Linked DNA regions of Homo sapiens: all the other regions are linked to region 3. The links are contacts of gene promoters, found by promoter capture Hi-C in human tissues and cell types (Jung and others, 2019). All regions are on one chromosome and are shown on one strand. Each heading gives the region's core, a stretch centred on a gene start or on the middle of the fragment in contact. The rest is flanking DNA. Distances are from core to core; before and after follow the strand shown.

Region 1 (3,078 bases), core at 482-2,981, 440 kb after region 3:
GACTGATAAGGGTCTGATTCTCTTAGTAAGAGTGTATTCCTTTAAAAGCCTCTGATTATTTATGTGAACATAAATGAGAGATACACTCTTTAAAGGACTAAGTTGGGAATATGACCTAATTAAACAGCCTAGCATCTTGACTGAATATCTTAATGTGCGATAGTCACTCCAAGTTTGCCATCTTCCAGGTTATTGCTTTTTATTACAAAGGCTGATTCTACAAACAAAAATAATTTGAATTGGCCTTCATAATAAAAGCACTTTGGAGAAACTTGAGAATTCAGTGTTTGAGTTGTATATACCTGGTGCTCAGGACCAGTGTGGTGGGTACCATCTCTAAAAAGCAAAATTAGGAACAATATTGTTAATGACTTTTTTTTTTGTGCTGTAGGAAACATATTTTTTAGTATCCTCACAGGTTTCATATAAGTAGGCCAAATGTTGCAATGCAGGGAAGGGACATTTACTTTTGACTCCAACTACAGTAAACCCTGGGTTGAAATTCATCAGAAATTGTGGATCTTCAGTGGAATGCAAGAAAAGACTTATATCTAAATGAGCCAGCCTGCTTCACAATAACAGTTTTGTTTTCCTTGAGGAGTGTTTCTTGACTATCTGATATTATCTGTCCTTCAGGGATAAAGTAGAAATATTTTCTGCCCTCAGGGACAGTGATTGAAGCAAATCTTGGCATTCACAAATGAAAGGGTGTTGAATCTCCTGCAGGTCTCAAGTAGGTGCTTGTCCTATGCTAGTAATGGAATTTGCATTACTCATGCCCTGGGCTTATGAAAGTCTAGTTATTAAAATGTTAAAATTAAAAACGCTGAAAAATGACTTATACTTGGCATCTTGTTCATAGAAACTTGAAACTGTAATAAATACTATGATGGGTAGTTGAGTGTCAGCCTCCCAAATGATCTAGGTGGATTGGATAATTGATGATCACCTGGAGAAGTAGCAGTGCTCAGTTTGAGATAGGAGGTGGAAAGGGTCAATCGCAAAAGTAAGTAGCTGATCTCTGAGTCGTTTTAAACTTGATATAAAAAAAGGGAGAGCCCCAAATAGAACACTAAGTTGCTCTGAGGAAGATGGGGCTCTCCGGGCAGAAAGCTTCTCCAGGCAGAAAAAGCCAGCACTCACTGGCGCCTTCTGGTCCCTGGCCTTGGGAGGAGTCGCTCACGTGGCTAATTGGCCTGAGAAAGTGAACGCTTCAAGTTGAGTGCGATGTAATTTCTTAATCTTGTGTTTACTCTTTTTAATCCTCTAGTTGACAAATCTTATTTGCGTTGTCATGGTTCTAATTCAGTGAGTGCTCATGCAGAGAAATATATCTGTTTTTATTTTGTTTCTCTGCCTACATACAGTCATATGCAAGCACCTACACACAGAGGAACATAATAAGTATCCACAGGATTAAAAAAAATTCTAACACATTACACTAAGAAATGTTAAAATCTGTAACCAGATACTGACTGACCTTTCTAAGAAAAATTCGACAGGAATTAGCATCAACAGATGTCCACTACCAGTAGAGAGCATGAGACCCTTAGTCACTAGCTGAGAATGAAAGGTCTCCAAGCCAAAGCATATTTATAGGTGTGATGGTTGCAGCAGCTGTTTGTCATGGTTGCCAGGTGACGAGTTATAACAAATCCTTTTTTTTTTTTTTTAAGTTTGTCAATATGGAATGGTGACTTAGCAAACTTTCTGAAAAATATTGTTTGGCTTCAACTTCCATTTCTTATAAATTGAAAATAAAATAATGAGTAGTGTGAAATAATGTATACTTTCTGGAGGTATTATAACAGAAATCAAAACATCTTTGGAAATGATTATTGCACTATAAATTCATAAGGATGTGAAAAAGTTAAAACCTAACAAGAATGGTGTGTGTGTGTGTGTGTGTGTGAGAGAGAGAGAGAGAGAGAGAGAGAGAGAGGACAACACTGTCTGAAAATGTTCTCCAGCGGGGTGCAGTTGCCCTACAAAAACTTGAAAAGCAAAACCAAAAAGGGAGTCATTTTTCTCTGATATTTCATGTGAAGGTTGGATATTCGTCAGGGCCCAGTTCTGTTCTCTACTGGTATCACAAATGCTGGTGGGCCATGTGGGAACAGTGCCCGCAGGAGATACTCATGGATCCAGGGATCCCCAAGTCACACATTAAGGCTCAAGTTTTGCCCGCAGAAATCTCATATGAAATACCGATTTTCAGTTCCAGAAAGTCTTGGAATATATGAAGCATCTTTCTTTCTTTCTTCCTTTCTTTCCTTTCTTTCGTAGAGACAGGGTCTTGCCATGTTGTCTAGGCTGGTCATGAACTCTGGGGATCAAGGGATACTCCCGCCTTTGTCTCCCAAAGTGCTGGGATTACAGGTGTGAGCCACTGTGCCTGGCCCGTATTTCCTAATTAGCTAATTTTGAAGGCATTTTAACTGCCCATTTGCAAGAAAGAACAAAACAAAACTCTTCCCTATAGATGACAGTTGTTTTCTAGATTTTTAATAGGACTTTTTGTCTATTATTTTGTATATTTTTATACATATGAGGGAATGCATGCTAATTATTACCAACACGTAATGTATAGAAACATTCGGATAAGTGAATTAAAAACATGGTGCCACCAAATAACCACTGTTAATTATTTTTGATATTTTCTTCTTTGGATGTTTACTGTTTATATTCATTCAGTATTTTTATGTGCCTCATAGATGTCAAGCTCTGTTAGCTACTGAAGACAGAGCACTGTCCAAGAATTCCTTCATGGGATTTAAAGTCTCATAGGGAGTCAGTGTTACAAATGTCATAAATTAATTGCAATTCATAGTTGCCCTGAAAGAACGTTACCAGATGCGACGGTCGTGGTCGGTAACCAGGAGATCTGCTGTGTTTCAAGCCCTTTTCAGCCTCAGTTTTCTCTTGGGTAAAATGGAGATAACCCTGCCTTGCAGGGTATCGTAATGGGATGGGGTCCTAGGGGGATCATGTGGAGGACATTGGGACAGTGCGGGCAGAGTGCTTAACATAGTGCCTGGCACACAGGGAGAGCTTAGCAGATAGTTGCCATGGTCATGG
Region 2 (2,906 bases), core at 363-2,862, 320 kb after region 3:
TTTTCACTTTAATTGATGTATTTCATTTTTGTGGAAGTAAACTTTTTAAAGATATATTTTTGAATGATTTAGCACCTGGCATTAGCAGTGGGTTTTAGGAGTCTGAATTTGACTCAAAAGCTTCAACATTTATTACCTGCCCATTATCTGCAAGATTTTGGGCAAAAATTGTGACACAGCCGTAACCAATGGGTATAACTAAAAGTTGCATGAATTAAGTGTGGTGGAAGATTCAGGAAAGGATAATTCATTTTGATATGGTTTTGGGGAACGTGGTATTGTGGATGGAAGAGATTGTGGGGTTCTTAATAAGGAGATCATGCTTAAACCTCAGTGGATAAGAATGATTTGGGAGATCTAGTAGATGATCAAGAGCATTCTAACCCTGAGGAATACAATGAACACAATAGCATCTTGAAGGTGTACCTAATATTTCAACCACTACACAGTAAACAGATGCAATGGCAGCATGGGCTGGTAGAAAATGTAGTGGGAGATAAGGTTGGCTAGGTGGTTTGTGGGGGCAGTAGTTGCCTCAGATGCTATGTTGTGTGTTTGGATTTGTTTTTTCTGTAGGCAACAGGGACCAAAAAAAAAAATACTTTGTAGAAGTATCCACAAATAATTTAATGGATAAGTACACTGTGGTTCATTTATTTATTATAAATTGTGATACCATATAACAATGAAAATACAGCTTTAGCAACAACAGGGATGAATTTTACAAATGTAATTTTGGTCAAAAGATGCACAAAGTAATATATGCTGAATGATTCAATTAAGTTTTAAATGGTGCAGGAACTGAACAGGATTGGTTAGGGATACACACATAGGGGATAAAACTACAAAGAAAATAAAAGACATTCTCGAATCCGAGACGTGCAGGCACACACACACACATATGCATTCTTATCTATGGTATATTTTATGAAAAATACTGAAATATGAAAAAATGCTAAAAAATGATATTCATGAGAACTCAGAGGAGTTTGGTAAAATAGAGGCCACATAGAGTGCCTGTCTCAAAAAGCAGGGTTTCCACAACTGAAGTAGATTGGGTAACAGTCCCATAGTTTTGTGGTGATGAGGGGCCTCAGATAATACTATCTCACTCATTTCACCAATGAAGAACATGTTTTTAGAATTTTTTCCTTCATTTAAAATTTTATTTATTTAAAAATTAACTAACATAGCCTTACAGTTCAGATGTTTAAATGTACAGAAGGGTAAACATTTTGATGTCTTCCCACGCCTGTCCCTGTCTACGCAGTTTCCTCTCAGAAGCAACCCATGTTGTACTTGTAAGCACATCCTGAAATGGAATGAGCCCAATGTAATAGAAAATGTTGGTTTTTTTTTAAATATCAACTTTTTGTGGTTTACCACCAATAAAATGCCCATACTGTAAGTATACAGTCAAATGTATCATATGTGCCTGTGTAACCATACTGGCAGTTGAGATCTAGAATATTTCATCACCCTTAAAGGCTTCTTTGCATCCCTGTTCTATCAGCACCCACCCCTGGGGACTGATCTGTTTCTGTCACTGTTGACTAGGTTGGACTTCCCTAAAGCTTTGTATAAATGGTGTTATTTAGGGTGATAGGGTGATGTCCTTTTTTTTTTTTTTTTGAGACGGAGTCTCTCTCTCTCTCCCAGACTGGAGTGCAGTGGTGCGATCTTGGCTCACTGCAACCTCCACCTCCTGGGTTCTAGCGATTCTCCTGCCTCAGCCTCCCGAGTAGCTGGGACTACAGGCACATGCCACCAAGCCTGGCTAATTTTTGTATTTTTAGTGGTGACAGGGTTTCACCATATTGGTCAGGCTGGTCACGAACTCCTGATCTCAGGTGATCTGCCTGCCTCAGCCTCCTAAAGTGTGTGATGTCTTTTGTGTCTGGCTTTGCTTACTCAGCGTAGTTTTGTGATTCATCTCTGCTGTGTGTATCAGTTATTTGCTGCTTTGTATTGCTGGGTAGTGTACCACTTTGATGATGTACCACAATTTGTTTATCCATTTGCTAGTTGATGTTCCTTCAGGTAGTTTTCATGTTTGACTATTATGAATAAAGCTATTGGAAAACATCACGTAGAAATCTTTGTGTGAAGTGTCTGTTTTTGGTGAGGAAAGTGGTAAGCCCTGATGGTTGCCTTGGATAGGCACAGAATGGAGTGAAAGGTCCGTTTCCTAAGTCTTGCTGATCGCTGTATTGAAATTTAATGGCTTATGATGCAGCTCCTCTTTTGGGCATGTTACATCTGCAGCCTAGAAAGCGTCTCTGATGTGATTTTTTTTTTTATTCAAGTTCTAGGGTACGTGTGCACAACGTGCAGGTTTGTTACGTATGTATACATGTGCCATGTTGGTGTGCTGCACCCATTAACTCATCATTTACATTAGATGTATCTCCTAATGCTATCCCTCCCCACTCCCCCGACCCCATGACAGGCCCTGGTGTGTGATGTTCCCCTTCCTGTGTCCAAGTGTTCTCATTGTTCAGTTTCCACCTATAAGTGAGAACATGCAGTGTTTGGTTTTTTTGTCCTTGTGATAGTTTCCTGAGAATGGTTTCCAGCTTCATTCATGTCCCTACAAAGGACATGAACTCATCCTTTTTTATGGCTGCATAGTATTCCATGGTGAATATGTGCCACATTTTCTTAATCCAGTCTATCATTGATGGGCATTTGGGTTGGTTCCAAGTCTTTGGTATTGTGAATAGTGCCGCAATAAACATATGTGTGCATGTGTCTTTATAGCAGCATGATTTATAGTCCTTTGGGTATATACCCAGTAATGGGATGGCTGGGTCAAATGGTATTTCTAGTTCTAGATCCCTGAGGAATCGCCACACTGACTTCCACAATGGTTGAACTAGTTTACAGTCCCACCAACAGTGTAAAAG
Region 3 (2,845 bases), core at 342-2,841:
TGCTCCAGTATCTGAACACCAGTGGTTGCAGGACCCATTTGACTAAGCACTGGGATTGTTGGTATTTATCCTGACTCCATCTTCACTTTCCTTGCGACCTTGGACACAAGCTTTAATGGCTCAGCGCCTTAAGCGTGTAAACCTGTGAAACAGAACAACATTGCACAATATCATTAACTAATTTACACCTTGACTCTTTCTAAAGGGAAGTGAGGTGGGAGCAATGATATTAATGGTGAAGAACTGGACTGGGATAAGTTACAAACATGCTTGACTTTCCCCATAAGGATTACAGAAGGATGTTTCATTCATTCATTCATGCTGTGAGACAGCCTGGGGATACTCATCTTAAAGCACAGTCCTTCCCCAACAGTCTTAGGAATAAATCCTAGAGTGGGCATCTAGCCCAGTGGTTACGGGGAGCTTGGGTGGGGTGAGTGGAGTAGCATCTTTGGGAAGGGTTCCTTCCCCTGGAAGGTGTGACTTTGTGAGCTGAGTTTTAAAGGTTGAGTAGCAGTTGGCAAATTCCCTGGAGAGAGCATCTCAAATCTTTTGTGCTGAAGAACCAGCCATTTTTGTTCCCAGTCGGCCAGGTACCAATACACTGCGGCGCCAGGTGTGACTCACCACGTGAGTCTGACAACACCCAAACTGGTTTATACTCGGTTCAAAGAGTCCACTGATCATGTGCTTGGATGTCGTGGCATTATTAAATTGCTACAAACGTTTACTCTTAATTTCTCTACTTGTTACAAGCTTTCGTTCAGCACAGGACCAGGTAGCACCTGAGGGGCACCTGGAAAGCAGATTGTTCCAGCCTGCGTTCTAACAAGGTTCCCAGGTGACCCTCGCACAGCATAAAGTTAAAAGAACTGCCCTAGGGGAAACGGGACTCAGTGCCAGGTGGGTTTGATCATTCGTCCATCTCAGTGCCATCTGCCATCTCTGCTTCCTTGAGGTCTAGAAAAGGGTTACATTTTTAAAGGTGATATTGGCCACGTCCCCTTCCAGTTTCAAAACTACATTTCCCCGCTGTTACGCAAACGTCTTAAGCAAACCCGACTGCAGGACAGAAAGTCAACACGGGAATGCAGCTTCCAGAAATTCTGATTAGCCTCCGTCTTCCGCTTTGATCTGGCCCCGCAGCCCCGGCAGCTCCGCTGACCGCGCTTCCTTCCCGAGATTGCTAGTCTACCGGGCTGCATTAATGAGATCCGTGTTGAGCCGGTTCCCGGGTCTGCTAAACATGAAAGGCACAGAAGCCCCCAGTCCCTTCTCCTCCCCTCTAAGTGATTGTTTAGTCTCTCTCTGCAGAGGGAAGAGTTAAATCCCCTCCCCACGCCTACGTGGGAAGACCTGGGGAAACACGCGGCCCCCTCCCGGGTCCGCTAACGAGCCTGCGGCTGCTTCGGGCTTAGAGTGGGCGGGGCCTGGTCGGGAAGGGGGCGGGGCGCTCCGCCCGGGCGGGGCCAGACGGTGTGGTTGGCGGAGGGCCAAGCTCCTGGGGGCGGGGCCGCGAGCGGGAGGGCGGGGCCGGCTGCGGGAGGGCGGGGCCGGCTGCGGGAGGGCGGGGCGAGGTCGCTGGGCTGTAGTCCCGCGGGCGAGAGCTGGCTGAGCCGCGGCGCGGGACTGCTCACCTCCAAGCGCTCGCGCGGGGATCGCGGCTCCTGCTCACTTTGCGGCCCGCTGTCCTCCTGCCCGCCCCGAGGGCCCCCGGCCGGAGCGCAGAGGGAGGGGGCCGCGCTCGCCAGCACCCCGCCGCCTTCCCCCGCCTGGGGGAAGAATGTGCCACCAGCTGTTCTCCGCTTGCGAGCGCTGCGCCCAGTAGTGAGGAACTTGGAGGAAGAAGAGACAAAGGCTGCCGTCGGGACGGGCGAGTTAGGGACTTGGGTTTGGGCGAACAAAAGGTGAGAAGGACAAGAAGGGACCGGGCGATGGCAGCAGGGGAGCCCCGCGGGCGCGCGTCCTCGGGAGTGGCGCCGTGACACGCATGGTTTCCCCGGACCCGCGGCGGCGCTGACTTCCGCGAGTCGGAGCGGCACTCGGCGAGTCCGGGACTGCGCTGGAACAATGGATAACTTCTTCACCGAGGTAAGTGCGCTCCCAGTCCGACCTGGCCTCCGGAGCCCAGGGAGAGAGGCGTCTGCCCACCACGCCGCGCGCCCTGGGTACTTTTTCCTAAGCCCTGGAAGGCGCAACTTTCTGGGAGTCTCCTGAAATCACCCCCCATCCCCCCGCGGAGTCTCTGATGAGTAAGCCCGGGCAGGTTTTGTTTCGTCCTGTCCCGCGCTCGCATTTTGCTCCGGGAGGTAGCGAAGGTGCGTTTCCGTTTGCGTGGGTGGCTGGCTCTCGGGGCGCCCTGGGACACCCGCGCCAGGTGAGGCGGCGCGCGCCGGGGCGCGGGCGGGGCGATCCGCCCGCTCGACTGCCCGGGTGCAGGAAGCCCAATAAAATGTTCAGCGGGGACCTGCCTTTCTCCAAGAAAGGTCTTGTCTGGTATTTCCTTTGCAAAACGTGCGGGCTTCCTGTGCAGGGGTTCAAACACTTCCAGAGGAGACGGCTTAATGAAGTGTGAGAAGGAGAGGCAAGGGTTTAATCGGTTACTTTGCTCGCCGAGAAGTGCTCTTTTAAGGCTTGGGATAACTCCAGACCCTGGGATCAAATGATCATGTATTTGTGTAGAGTGTCCATGCAGATTTTGAATTCGAATGTAAAGAAAATTCGTTTAGGGCAAACAGTGGCTATTTTAATAGATGAAACGGATGCCCTCTTTAGGGTCGTTGAGGGTGGGACACTGAAACTTAACTTGAGAACCCTTTTTCCCCCTTTGGGATCGAGACTTACT
Region 4 (3,062 bases), core at 327-2,826, 370 kb before region 3:
AGATCATGCCACTGCACTCCCACCTGGGTGACAGAGCGAGACTCCATCTCAAAAAAAATTTACAAGAGTAAGTCAAATTTCACATACTCATCACTTTCCTAAATAAGAATCGTTTCCTCAAAAAGCTTGGGATATATCTTAGGATTCACTCTCGCCCACATTTCACAAAATTATACTAAGCAACAGAATTTCATGTTTAGAAGAGATTTTCTCAGCTTTCTTCTTCTTTTGACCTGTCACATGATCAGGGTGGAGGAAGAATTAACTGACCTGACCTAGGAGGATTTTCTATTCATTTAAATTCATAGAGTTCGTGTCCTTTGCCAAACAAATGTGCATAACAAGTAAAGTATAGAATGGGTCAGAGAAGCCATCTGGTCTCACCTTCTAAATTTACCAATGAGAAAATTGAGGCCCACAGAGATTGAAATCCTCTCCTGAGTAAAATAGTCAGAATCAAAAATGAAATCTAATGATTCCCAGATGGTTGTTTCTTCCACTATAACATCATATTATTCTCCTGCATTATCATTTAACTTTCTGTTTACCTGTCTCATCTTGCCAACTAGATTGTCTTTAGTTTCATTCCAAAACTATCTAAACGGCATCCTCCATTTCCAGGTGGCAGTAAAAGATTAAAAAGTACCTCCTGGCCAGGCACAGTGGCTCACGCCTGTAATCCCAACACTTTAGGAGGCCGAGGTGGGTGGATCACCTGAGGTCAGGAGTTCGAGACCAGCCTGGCCAAACTGGTGAAACCCCGTCTCTACTAAAAATACAAAAATTAGCTGGGTGTGGTGGTGGGCACCTGTAATCCCAGCTACTCGGGAAGCTGAGGCAGGGGAATCACTTGAACCCGGGAGGTGGAGCTTGCAGTGAGCCAAGATTGTGCCATTGCACTCCAGCCTGGGCAACAAAACAAGACTCCATCTCAAAAAAAAAAAAAATTCCTTTTCTTTAGAAAATTCTACGCCTTTATGGTATCTGTGATGGTTAATGGTTAATTTTATGAGTCAATTTGGCTTGTCCATGGGATGCCCAGATAGCTGATTGAACATTATTTCTGGCACATCTGTGAGGATGTTTCCTGAAGAGATTATCATTTACATTGGTGGGCTGAGTAAAGCAGATAATCCTCCCCATTGTGCTGAGCATCATTCAGTCCACTGATGACCTCAATAGAATCAAAGGGTGGAGGAAGATTGGATTCCCTCTCTTCCTTCCTGGTTGAGCTAGGGCACGGATCTGCTTGCAGTGCTCCTGGTCCTGAGGCCTTTGAACTACACCTCTGGATTTCCTCGGTCTCCAGCTTGCAGACAGTAGACCTTAGGTCTTCTCAGCCCCTATAGTCACATGAGCCAATACCTTATAATAAATCTCTTTATATTTATATGTTCTGTTTCATTGGAGAACCCTGGCTAATATAGTACCCATGATGCCTGATGTTGAAGAAAACTAAGACTCAATACTGATGTTCATCCATACATTTATTCACCAAATATGTACTGCACACCTGCCCTGTGTAGGGCATTGTTTAAGGCATAGCAGTGAATAAAAATAATAAAATTTCTAGGCCAGGTGCAGTGGCTCATGTCTGTAATCCCAGCATTTTGGAGGCCAAAGTGGGAGGATCACTTGAGCCCAGGAGTTTCAGACCAGCCTGGGCAACATGGCAAAACTCTGTCTCTACAAAACAAACAAATAAAAATTAGCCTGTAGTGCCAACTACTAAGGAGGCTGATGTAGGAGGATCACTTGAGCCCAGAAAGCTGAGGCTACAGTGAGCCAAGATTGCACCACTACACTCTAGCCTGGGGGACAGAGTGAGACCCTGTCAAGAAAAGAAAGAGAGAAAGAAAGAAAAAAGGAAAGAAAGAAAAGAAAAGAAAGAAAGAAAGAGAAAGAAAGAGAGAAAGAAAGAAAGAAAGAGAGACAGAGGGGGAGGGAGGGAGAGGGAGAGAGAGAGAGAGAGAGAGACTTTTATTCTAGGTTTATTCTTTCTTCTTGTTTTGTTTTCTGTTTGTTTGTTTGTTTGTTTGAGATGGAATCTCACTCTGTCATCCGGGCTGGAGTGCAGCGGCAAGATCTCGGCTCACTGTGACCTCCGCCTCCTGGGTTCAAGCGATTCTCCTGCCTCAGCCTTTCGAGTACCTGGGATTACAGGCGCCCGCCACTATGCCCAGCTAATTTTTTTGTATTTTTAGTAGAGACTAAAAGTTTCACTATGTTGGCCAAGCTGTTCTCTAACTCCTGACCTCATGACTCACTGGCCTCGGCCTCCTAAAGTGCTGGGATTACAAGTGTGAGCCACCACACCCAGCCTGTTATTATTATTGAGGTAAAATTCATATAACATACAATTAATTTTAAAGTGTGCAATTCAGTGGCATTTGGTACATTTGCAGTGTTGTTCAACTACCCCCTCTCTCTAGTTCTAAAATATTTTCATTGCCCCAAAAGAAAACCAGGTACCCACTGGTAATAAAGAAAAGCATGCAATATGAGACCTTTCGTGTTGCATTTTTTTCACTCAGAATGATGTTTTCCAAGTTCACCCATGTTGTAGCATGTATCAGTACTTCTTTTCTTTACTGCTAAATAATATTCAGTTGCATAGATATACCAAAGTTTGCTTATTAATTCATCCATTGATGAACATTAGGCTGTTTTCACCTTTTGGCTATTGTGAATAATGCTTCTATGAAAAGTCATGTACAGGTATTTATCTGAGTACTTGTTTTCAAGTTTATTCTTTTTACTCCCCCTCCTTAATCCATTTCTGGATCTGTTTATAAGTCATATTTGAAATTTTAAAAGATGTTTTAGATGACCCCACAGTGGTGAAGAATCAAATATATTTAAGCCCCTAAATGAGTGCCTGGCACATAAGCAGTATGGTGATTCCTCAAAGAGCTAAAAGCAGAACTGTCATTCGACCCAGGAATCCCATTACTGGGCATATACCCAGAGGAATATAAATAATTCTGCTATAAAGACACATGCACGCGAATGTTCATTGCAGCACTATTCACAATAGCAAAGACATGGAATCAACCTAAATG

The links. The method cuts DNA at HindIII sites, captures the fragments that hold promoters and counts their contacts. A contact is called where the count stands out against the background at its distance.
Region 1: a fragment that was not itself captured here is called in contact with the fragment with the promoter of MYO10 in region 3 in 2 of the 25 tissues and cell types used here (mesendoderm cells and thymus).
Region 2: a fragment that was not itself captured here is called in contact with the fragment with the promoter of MYO10 in region 3 in 1 of the 25 tissues and cell types used here (H1 embryonic stem cells).
Region 4: a contact is called between a fragment that was not itself captured here and the fragment with the promoter of MYO10 in region 3, in 1 of the 25 tissues and cell types used here (aorta).

What each region holds. Positions count from the first base shown.
Region 1 is chr5:16,491,064-16,494,141 of GRCh38, reverse strand. All of the region lies in intron 3 of RETREG1 (reticulophagy regulator 1), which reads left to right. Among named protein-coding and RNA genes, the nearest start is that of ZNF622, 27 kb to the right of the region's middle. The HindIII fragment of the contact is 5,761 bases long and covers 1-3,078 here.
Region 2 is chr5:16,610,791-16,613,696 of GRCh38, reverse strand. All of the region lies in intron 1 of RETREG1 (reticulophagy regulator 1), which reads left to right. Among named protein-coding and RNA genes, the nearest start is that of RETREG1-AS1, 3.7 kb to the left of the region's middle. The HindIII fragment of the contact is 6,881 bases long and covers 1-2,906 here.
Region 3 is chr5:16,935,034-16,937,878 of GRCh38, reverse strand. MYO10 (myosin X) reads left to right here and starts at 1,591. Exons shown (of 41, transcript NM_012334.3): 1 at 1,591-2,091. The coding sequence starts at 2,071. The HindIII fragment of the contact is 7,585 bases long and covers 434-2,845 here.
Region 4 is chr5:17,307,728-17,310,789 of GRCh38, reverse strand. No RefSeq gene overlaps it. Among named protein-coding and RNA genes, the nearest start is that of LINC02111, 78 kb to the left of the region's middle. The HindIII fragment of the contact is 7,473 bases long and covers 1-3,062 here.